3 separate regions of the Homo sapiens genome follow, and regions 1 and 3 are each linked to region 2. The links are contacts of gene promoters, found by promoter capture Hi-C in human tissues and cell types (Jung and others, 2019). All regions are on one chromosome and are shown on one strand. The core of a region is centred on a gene start or on the middle of the fragment in contact, and the rest is flanking DNA. Distances in the headings are between cores, read along the strand shown.

Region 1 (3,114 bases), core at 244-2,743, 1.3 Mb after region 2:
ATTATACAGAGTAACTTATCTGATTATGCAATTGAAATATAACAATCTAGAAGACTCTAAACATTTGAAAATTAAACACACATCTAAATAATACAGGTCAATAAAGCATAAAATAATTATTTTGAGCTGGATAATAAAAATACAACAAATTAAAATTTTTTAGATATGTAAAAAATAAATGCCTATATTAGAAACTAAAGGTCTAAAATCCATTACTTAAGTTTTATTTTAAGAAACAACAAAAAGAAAAGCAAAGTAAACACAAAGATTTTCTAATAAATATTAGATTAAATGTCAATGAAAGAGAAATCAGAGAAATGAGGAAAAATTAAATGAAGAGATGATTCTTTGAAAAGATGAGCAAAATTGATAGACTGATAGAGGAAAAAAGATTAAGAACATAAAGTAGTAATATCAGGAATGAAAGAGGGATTATCATTGCAGATTCTACAAATATTAAGTGAACAGTAAGAATATTATAAACAAACTTAGGTCAAAATTTAATTAAAACAAACACATTCCTTGAAAATAAAGCTTACCAAAACTGACACAAGATAAAACAGAAAATATCAATAGTTCTACCTCTGTTAAAGAAGTTGAATTTGCTGTTAACAATCTTCACATGAAGAAAATTCCTGGGCCAGGTGGGTTTCTAGTGAATGCTATCAAATATTTAAGGAATAATTATTACCAATTTTATGCAATCTCTTTCAGAAAGTAGAAAAAGAATACTTCCAAACTTCTTTTGAGGCCTTCAAAACTCTATTCAAAACCCAGCAAAGAAATTACAAAACAAATACATAAATGAAACTACAGATCAATATCGCTCTTGAACATGGATACAGAAATCCTTAGCAAAATATCAATTCTAGCCCTATATAAAAAGGATTTTATATCATGACCAAGTGGGGTTTATCCTAGAAATGCAAGGTTAGTATAACATTTGAAAGTCAGTCAGTTTAATTCATCATAACAATAGAATAAAAGAAAAAAATCATGTGATAATTTTAGTTGATGCAGAAAAAAGTATTTGATGAAATTTAACACTGTTAAAAGAACAACTTTAGACAAGTTATATTTAACAGAGTTTAATTGAACAAAGAACAATTCACAAATCAGGCAGCCCCTGAAACCAGAATAGTTTCAGAGAGACTCTGCACTGCCACATAGCCAGAGAGCATTTATGGATAGAAAATGCAAAGTGATGTACAGAAAATGGACGTGTGGTACAGAAACTGCTGAATTGGTTACAGGTCGGTGTTTGCCTTATTTAAACAGGGTTTGAAAAGTTGGTCGCCTTTGATTGAATGAAGCTCAGAGATTGGTATAAGGGTAGGCTATAGTCTGTTTACACATCCAGTTAGGTCACAGTTCACTGTGTATGGAGAAACTTGTAGAGTGAACTTAAAATGTGTAAGGTGGCAACTTTAGGCTAAACTTGATTTAATAACATTGTTTCTGATTAAAAAAAATTTAAACTAGAAATAAATGAAAACTTCCTCACTCTGATAAGGGGTATCAAAAAACACCTACAGCTAACATATCACTTAGCAGTGAAACATTGAATGATTTCTTTCCAAAATCAGGAATAAGGCAAGGAATTCCTAGCTCACTGCTGGTATTATTAAGCACTGAAATCAGAAAAATTAATTTCAGCTATAAATTTTAGAGCAAGAAATACAACCCTCTATTTGCTGCTGATATCGTTGTCTACATGGAATATTCTAAGGACTTTGAAAAATAATAGAATTAATAAGTAAATTTAGCAACGTCACTGCATTCGACGTTAGTATAAATAAAAATTGTGGGTTTATATACTATAAAAAAATTAGAAAACAAAATTTAAAAATTAAAAATTTTTTTTCAAAATAGTATCTAAACTATTTTCAAAATAGTATCTATTTTCAAAATAGCATCTAAACTAGTACTCTTTTTTCAAAATGGTATCATTTTAAAAAATGAAGACTTGTACTTTTTTACTGTGGTTAGGTATACCTAATGAAAAAATTTGCTACTTTTTAATTCTGGTTCAATAGACATAATGACAAATTTTCTGTTTTAATCATTGTATGTATATAGTTTATTGGCATTAAGTGCATTCACACTGTTGTGCAACCATCTTCACTGTTCGTCTCTAGAACATTTTCATCATCACAAACTCTGTACCAATTAGACAATAACTCCCCATTTTCTCCCTCCCTCTACCCCCCGAAAACCATTGTTTGATTTTCTGTCTCTATAAATTTGGATGCCCTAGGTACCTCATAAAAGTGGAATCACATAATATTTGCCCTTTGTGACTGGCTTATTTCACTTGGCATAATGTCCTCAAGGTTCACCCTTGTGTAGCATGTGTCAGAATTTCCTTTCAAGGCTGAATAATATTCCATGTGAGTGCTGCTTTATCACCTCCATTGGAACCTTCCAGAAAAAAATGTGGTATTCTCTACTCTCCAAGACAGCCATCCCACTACTCTCAAGTCTGACTGTTAAGATAATCTTGGGTTGAACAGCAGTGATCTTGCCATTACTGCTAATTGATTTGCCCTTTCATCACTAATTTATTTCACTTAGCATAATGTCTTCAAGGTTCATTCATATTGCAGCATATGTCAAAATTTTCTTCCTTTTTAAAGCTGAATGATATAGACCTATATTTTTAAAACTGCAAAAAATTTGCTGAGTGAAATTGCAAAGCTGCTAAGTTAGTGGATAGGTATCCTGTATTATTGAACTGGAAGATTGAGTATTTTAAAGTTGGCAATATTCCCCAGAATGATCTATAGAATCAATGAGTTTCAAGATTGCTGAAGGTGTTTTATTAGAAATTGACACCAGCTTATCCTGAAATATATAGGTAAAGGACCTAGAACCTCCAAGGAAATCTTGGAAGAACAAAATTGAAGGACCTTTCACTATCCATCTTTAAGACTTATTGTACAGCTCAAATAATCAAGAAAATATGGTACTAGCATTCAGGATTCATTATTAGGTCAACACAACTGGCAGTAAAACGTCCAGACATAGACACTTACATGGTCATATAATTTTCAACAAAAGCATCAAAACAATCTAATGGAAAAGGAAAATTTTTTCAACAAATATTGCTGGAAA
Region 2 (3,483 bases), core at 984-3,483:
TTTATTGCTTCACAATCTTGCCAACGGTTGGTATTTTGTGTCTTTATCTTTCAAACATTCTAGAGATAAATGTAATTTTTTTTTAGTACTTCCCAGGTGATTCTAATGTTCAGCCAGAATTGAAAACCTCTGCGCAACTATTGTTTATCCCTTATTAGGCAGAACCACATGAAATTGTTCTATTTGTAGGTTTTAAAAATGGTCAAACATTGGCTATTTCATATGGTAGAAACTAACATCTCCTTCACATTTTATTTATACTAAAAATAAAACTCGTCTAGAATGCACATCACTGGGAAAAATATTAAAGATGAGCTAAGATGAAGTTTTAAAATTAACCACAGATTTCAATGACTTTTATATTTTTATATCACCCAGATATTTAAAAGCTTGGAACCAGACCAATGGTTTTCACCCTCAATGAAGACTGGAATCACCTGTGGGTTTTTAAAACCTGAGTGCCTCTACCCAAACCCCCATAAGCTCTGATTCTGTGAGACTAAGATAAAAGCTTAGGAATATATATTTGTAGAAGGCTGATGCACAGCCAAGGTTGAGAACCATTGATACTACCTGTCCTATGGCTTTCTTTCACATTCATTCAATCTCAGAAAATACTTAACACTTTGGTGATTTTATATACATAAAGTAGTGAAGCACCTGGATTTCAGTTCTTTCCAGAGTTTAGAATGCTTGGCTGTGTATTAGGTCGGAAAATTCTTTTTCCCATGGAAATTATGTCTCACTGAATGGGTCTCTCTCTACTGTACCTAAAAGAGAGGCTTAGGTTTGACTTGTACACAGCTCCATGGACTCAGAATTAAAGTATCAACAAGAGCATTTAATGGTTACACGCAGGTATTTTTTAAAGTACCTATACACATATTATTATTATATATTACCCAGTAGGGGAACTAAGCATGTAATTAGTGACCAGAACAACAGGTGTGCATGTATACACTGAGAAACGAAATTGTTTTGAAAAACATTTTTTTTTTTTTGCTGATGACCAAGACACACAAAAATGTCTAAGTAGTCATCATGGGAAGAATCCGATTTTTGTACTTCCTCATTTTACAGAGATTAACATTATATATGAGTGACTGGGTGGATGTGGTACCAAATACATTTGTAAACTGAAGGCCTTTAAAAGTCAATCCAGTCTTGAGCCAGATTTATTCCCGAGGCTATTCCCTTACCCCTTCCAGCCACAACTGTATCCGTATTTTCACACGCAGGAAAAAATGTTTAGAAACTTAATTTTTACGAGCTGTCGAATTGTATTGCTATCCACGTGATTCCCATTATCATGTCTGCTTATAGCATCCCCAGCACCTACAGCTAGGACATAGGTTCAGAAGTTGAAGGAACCTGATTCTCAGGCACTGTTAATTATTAGGCCCTATCACAGGCTGTCAACAGGCTCCAAGTCTAGGCAAATTGAAAGCCTCCTATCCTGGAAGCCAGACAGGCTTTCATCTGACCTCCTCCGGTGCAATCCTGGCTCCCAGACTTTGTTCCTAACAACCCCTTGGGGACGTTGCCTATTGGGGTTTAAGCCACTCCTCCTCCCCTACACCCCCATGCCAAGTATTTAGCCACCTGAACCACCCTGTAGGATAAGACAACTGTATCAACCGTCGGAATTCCCCCACAAAACCCATACATCTCAGGGTGCGAAGGAACAAGTTTCAACCTCACCCTGGGCAGCGTTCTCTGGCCCAGGTGGAGAACCACACAGGAGGACAGTGGTCCTGCTCTCCCTACTAAATGGTGGTTCAGGAGGCCAGGGGGCGGGGCGGTACCGGCGGCAGAGGCCCACGGACGAGCTCGCAGGAGCTCATCACACAGCTGACCGTCACCTGCCCACCTCACCACACCTGCTAGGTGCCAAACCCCTTGTAATGGACAGGGAAGGGCTCAATCACGGGTCCCTACTCTTAGCAGCGAACCTATCTCAGCGCACGGCCTCCTGGGAGATGTAGTCCAGACCGCTTCCCGGGAACCCCCCCCCCCTCCCCCCCCGCCCCGCCACAACCAGGCATCCCTGGTCCCCTCACAACTTCCCCAGGAGAGATTGCTCGGCCTGGCCAGCTGAAGCTGGAGTTGCTCTCCAAGTGTCGGGGCCAGGCGGCACTCCGCGGAGGAGTCGGGGTGCTCTCCCCAGTCCGAGCGAAGGGAGGGAACTACACTTCCCAGGACGCCCTGCGCGCGCCGAGCCGGGAGCCGGCTGCCTCGCTTTGCGTGACCGCGGCAGGTTGGTCCTGGAGCAGATAAGCGCAGAATATTTAGGCGAAAGCGAGAGGAAGGGGGGAGCGCGGGGCAGGAGGAGTACCTCGGCCAAGAAAATTATGCATGCGTTAGGGAAGCTCTGAGAGAATGGCTGTGGAAGGTAAGGGACGCTTGGGGCATTTTTAAGCTCCCTCTTAACCCGCGCACCCCAAGGCACACATCCCCGATGAAGCTTGGCGATCGTGGGGAGGCGAGGAAAGGGGGTGGCGGAGAGCGGGCCCCTTCCTCCTCCACCTCTTGGCACTCACCTGCGCCGCCAAGGCCAGTAGGCGCTTTAATTCAGTTGCTTTGGAGAGACGTGAAGGGTAGGTGCGTAGGACTTTGAGGTAGGAGGTGTGGAGACGAGTGTCCCTGATGCGAAACGATATCCTGGAAATGGGGGGAAAGCCGGAGGATCCGGCATGAGGTTTTGGCCCCGAGATGCCCTTTTTCCCTGCCCCCTCCCTCCGGAGCAGGCTGGGTGGCCCCGGGGCTGGGGATGCTTGGTTGGCCCCCCTCACGTGGGAGAGGTCCCCAGCCCAGGTGCGTCATCCGGAAGCTTGGACTGGGATTGGGTCGAGGGCCCTTCGTCCTATGCACCCAGCAGCGGCGGCCGCAGATGTACCCAGAGGGTAGAGGTGTCCCTACACCTGTCTCTGCTTATACAGCCAGCGCCCCGGGCTTAGCAAAGTTTACAGACATGAAATGTAATCAGCCAGGGAAAAGAAGTGCAACAACCTCTTCGATTTGGGTGAATCCTTTTCTTTGAAGATCACTTTCTTCTTACAGTCTTGAGCTTCGGCTTTGCAGTTTTGACCGTAAAGTCCTGCCTCCCTTGAACTTCCTGGTTGAAAGCAGGGTCAGGCTGTTCGTGAGGGATCCTGAGTTTTTCATTTCAGGTTATCTTACCTTGGAACACAAACTTCCTTGTTTAGGTAGTTTCTGAAGAAGAAAAAAAAACTGTGGACCGGAAGGGTTTGTGATGTCACATTAGAGGTCAAGCTGTGCCTGAATGATGAAATGATTGTGGGACGAAATGGGAGCCTACATTCACCTGCAGAATTTTGGTTTCTGAGTGCAGTCAGGTCAGAGGGCGTACTGAAGTAGGAAGAGGAGGGCTTGCCTGCCAGCTGCTTCAGGCGCCTTGCCAAGGGGAAATCAGCCTATTCCTTGTAGGCTAGAGACGAGAAGGCCACGAGGCTGGCTTGCTGC
Region 3 (3,499 bases), core at 8-2,507, 1.3 Mb after region 2:
AAAATCATTTCCTATTTCCTAGTGAAATAAAAACCAGTTTTCAAATCTGATTACCAGTTTGACTGACACCATGATTCAAGACTTGGACCTTCTATGGCATTCCGCACCAGCTAAGATAATCACTTCTCAACAGTCACAAAGGAACCCAAATGCTATTGTGGTTCTCTAGGTGGATTTTGATTGCACTTGGGCACTCTTTTAGGGCACTCTTTTAAGTCTGGCTTTTTGGTTTGGTTCTGCCTTTGCTGGGTTTTCAGCACATGAAATCCATCTCTGCTGAAGGCATTGTGGAGAGCGTGGGGGAACCACTAGATGGCAGGAGTGCACTACCTAAAATGGGAACCGCGATTAAGCGGCAAGCTTTGGCATTTCTCTGAACACCGGCGGTGAGGGGGTGGGGGGAGAGGGTAGCTGAGTATTGATTGGCCCAGTGACCCCTGTCTCCTCCTCCTCTCTTCCAACTCTAATTGCAATCCTGAATGCTGTTCTCCTGCAGCTTGTCAAGCACTTTGCCAGGATGGGTGGCTTTGAAAATTGTCCTGTTGGACTCCAGGGTGGGTCTGCAAGATGACAGAGCAGCTTTAGTTTAAGGTGTCTGAAAGGTTTTGTTTTGTTTGTTTGTTTTGTTTTGTTTTTCCCCAGCACCATGGTACTGGCAATTGTTTGAAGAAGGTCCTAAATATGCCTGGGTTTGGGAGTCTCGGCTTCTACTGGGAATGATACAAGAGGTCAAGGCTACTTGTAATGAATAAATCCTGTTCTCTGCCACGATTGTTATTTGCTCATTCATTTTCTCTTCCCTTCAGTGTGTATCTTTTTTTTTTTTTTTTTTTTTTTTTTTTTGACTGAGTCTCGCTTTGTCGCCCAGGCTGGAGTACAAGTGGCATGATCTCGGATCACTGCAACCTCCACCTCCAGGGTTCAAGCGATTCTCCTGCCTCAGCCTCCCAAGTAGCTGGGATTACAGGCACGCACCACTGCACTTGGCTAAGTTTTTGTATTTTTAGTAGAGACGGGGTTTCACCATGTTGGCCAGGATGGTCTCGATCTCCTGACCTTGTGATCCGCCTGCGTCTGCCTCCCAAAGTGTTGGGAGTACAGGCATGAGCCACCGCGCCCAGCCTTCAGTATATATCTTAATATACTTGCCTTACTTACTCACTAGCTCCTACCGTGAAATAGGTGCTAGGGATACAACCATAAATGAAACATAGGCCCTGCAAGAAGCTTACAATTGAGGTATGAGAGACACAGGCAGGTAGGCAATTAAGACAGGTGATCATTGCTACAATTAGGTTACAGGACTCTTTAGCATCACAGATAAACTTTCTCATGGGGGTAAAGACCACAAGGACATCTCAAGGACAACTAAGAGTGAGCCAGGCAAATAGTCAGGAAAGGAAAATTCTAACCAAGAGTCCAACCTAGAGATGAGAAGAATATAACCCAACTAAAATGAGAGACAGTGCTGTCACTTGGGGACTTAAGAAGTTGTCTAGCTGAAATATAGACAATGATGACAATGGAGGAGCAGGGAAGGAGAGCAAGTACCAGATTAAAAAGCGTCTTGCATTAGCCTAAATTTACCATATCCGTGGGGAGCCAAGAAAGCCAATGTACAATGTCCTGGTCACATTTGCTCTTTAGACAGGTCATTCTGGTGGCAATTAGAGAACAGGTTAGAGGGAGCCAAGAGGGGAGCAAGTTAAGCTCAGCATTTCTGATAGCCACAACTAAAGAGCAGCCAGGGGATAGACAGAAGCCGGTCAATGGGAAAGGGTTATTAGGCGAATAGAAAGGATACTTGGAGATTTAATTATATATGTGGGGTAAGATAGCAATACAGGAACTCCTCACGTGAAGTCGTTGATAGGTTCTTGGAAACTGCAACTTCGAGTGACACAATGTACAGCAGGTCCTCTAATAACATCCTTTTGTTCAACATAGTTTGTTAAAATGTTGATGAGGAAAAGGAATTGTTCCGTTATGCATTATGTCACTTCAAGTCACGGTTTCCCAGAATCTAGTGACGACCTTAAGTGAGGATTAACTATATTCTCAAGAATAACCTCTTGGCCTTCATCTGGGGAGACTGCAGAGATTATTTTGCCATTAACTGTGTATAATACTAGGCAGAAAGTTAATTCTAAACCCTGATAATGTGCAGTATGCTTTGTTAGAATGTAAATAGCATGAAACTATGGTTATTTAATGAATATTCATTAATTCAATTCATTCATTCAAACAACATTCATGGATCATTTACTTTTCATAAGGTAATATGCCAGGTCTGCATACCACAACAGGATGCCAAAAAGTTACTGTTTTCCAATCTTCAGGGGGCTTAAAGAACATTGTTTTCTTCTTAATAGATGATTTCTGTTGACTGATTTTTGCTTCTATTATATATTTTGAATTTTGACTACATATGATATTATTTTTAAAAGTCATTTTTATATAAACCTCATCACTTCACCTGGACAAAAATTTGCTTGGGGTCAGTTCAACAACCATAACATTGATACCTCCACAAAAAGCTGTTTGAAAATATTTGTCGAGTAAAATGAAATACAACTATAATTTTTATAATTTCTAAAGGTACTTTTGACACATAGTTTCGGAATCTCCTACCATTGGTATTATGAAAATTAAAAAAAAGAGAGAGAAAAAATAATTAGGTTGAGTTTCATCTAAAATCCTCTCCTTCTGGAGACATTCTCATAATATTGCAAGCAAGTAGAGCTGAAAAAATAGTAGAGTAACTGGATTCTATAATGTGAGAATTGGATATATTACTGAGAGTATCCCTAATAGCTAGGAAACCTTACATTAAATATACATACAGCAATGACCTGCTGTTTGTATGTCCTTAGTAAACATTTGCTGAGGTCCTGTGTGGTGGCAGTACATTAGGCACTGCTGATAACAGAGTTAACAAAACAGGCACAGTCCCTCTTCTCATGATGCTTAAGATCTAGTGAGGACAACAGATCTTAGACAAGAAAATACACACATACTATATTCCCATAATGAATATGAACCTGTGTTAATCCACCAAGAGGTTTTTTGCTCATGATCACACATTTGTGGAGGAAATATGTAATAATGCTCATGAGACAGAGAAAAACAAACACAAGGATGTGAATCCATTGCCTCAGTCATCATTACAGAGCTAGAATTCAGTCATTCATGGTCAAATGAAATAAACACCTAATGAGAAGAGATAGGTAGTCTCCCAGGTCCTTAGAAAGAGCCTCTGCACCAGAGGTGGCAAATGTACTAGGCTTCATCTCATTTATCAATTCGAATTGATTTGAAGTGGCTGCCTGGAGTGCCATGCTGAGCAGGACTTAGTGGGAAAGAGGAATTGTTTTTCAAATGAACAATTGCTTAGGAAGACAGGGGGTGACACATGGCATACATTTGTTAACCTTTCACTACACCATGGCTTAATCAATAATATTGGCATATTTAAAGAAGACATGGAAAAGTTGAGATG

What was found. The method cuts DNA at HindIII sites, captures the fragments that hold promoters and counts their contacts. A contact is called where the count stands out against the background at its distance.
Region 1: a fragment that was not itself captured here is called in contact with the fragment with the promoter of SAMD12 in region 2 in 1 of the 25 tissues and cell types used here (lymphoblastoid cells).
Region 3: a contact is called between a fragment that was not itself captured here and the fragment with the promoter of SAMD12 in region 2, in 1 of the 25 tissues and cell types used here (spleen).

What each region holds. Positions count from the first base shown.
Region 1 is chr8:117,364,977-117,368,090 of GRCh38, reverse strand. All of the region lies in intron 4 of LOC105375716 (a long non-coding RNA gene), which reads left to right. Among named protein-coding and RNA genes, the nearest start is that of MED30, 150 kb to the left of the region's middle. The HindIII fragment of the contact is 4,121 bases long and covers 1-3,114 here.
Region 2 is chr8:118,620,713-118,624,195 of GRCh38, reverse strand. SAMD12 (sterile alpha motif domain containing 12) reads left to right here and starts at 2,233. Exons shown (of 4, transcript NM_207506.3): 1 at 2,233-2,392. The coding sequence starts at 2,380. It overlaps SAMD12-AS1 (SAMD12 antisense RNA 1), which reads right to left and starts at 3,195. Exons shown (of 5, transcript NR_038210.1): 1 at 3,010-3,195; 2 at 2,541-2,661. RefSeq lists a silencer at 1,891-2,040 and enhancers at 2,141-2,340, 2,951-3,160, 3,191-3,240. The HindIII fragment of the contact is 2,703 bases long and covers 1-2,647 here.
Region 3 is chr8:117,301,120-117,304,618 of GRCh38, reverse strand. The region is part of intron 4 of LOC105375716 (a long non-coding RNA gene); the gene reads left to right. The region is part of intron 4 of LOC105375717 (a long non-coding RNA gene); the gene reads right to left. Among named protein-coding and RNA genes, the nearest start is that of SLC30A8, 170 kb to the right of the region's middle. The HindIII fragment of the contact is 3,734 bases long and covers 1-3,124 here.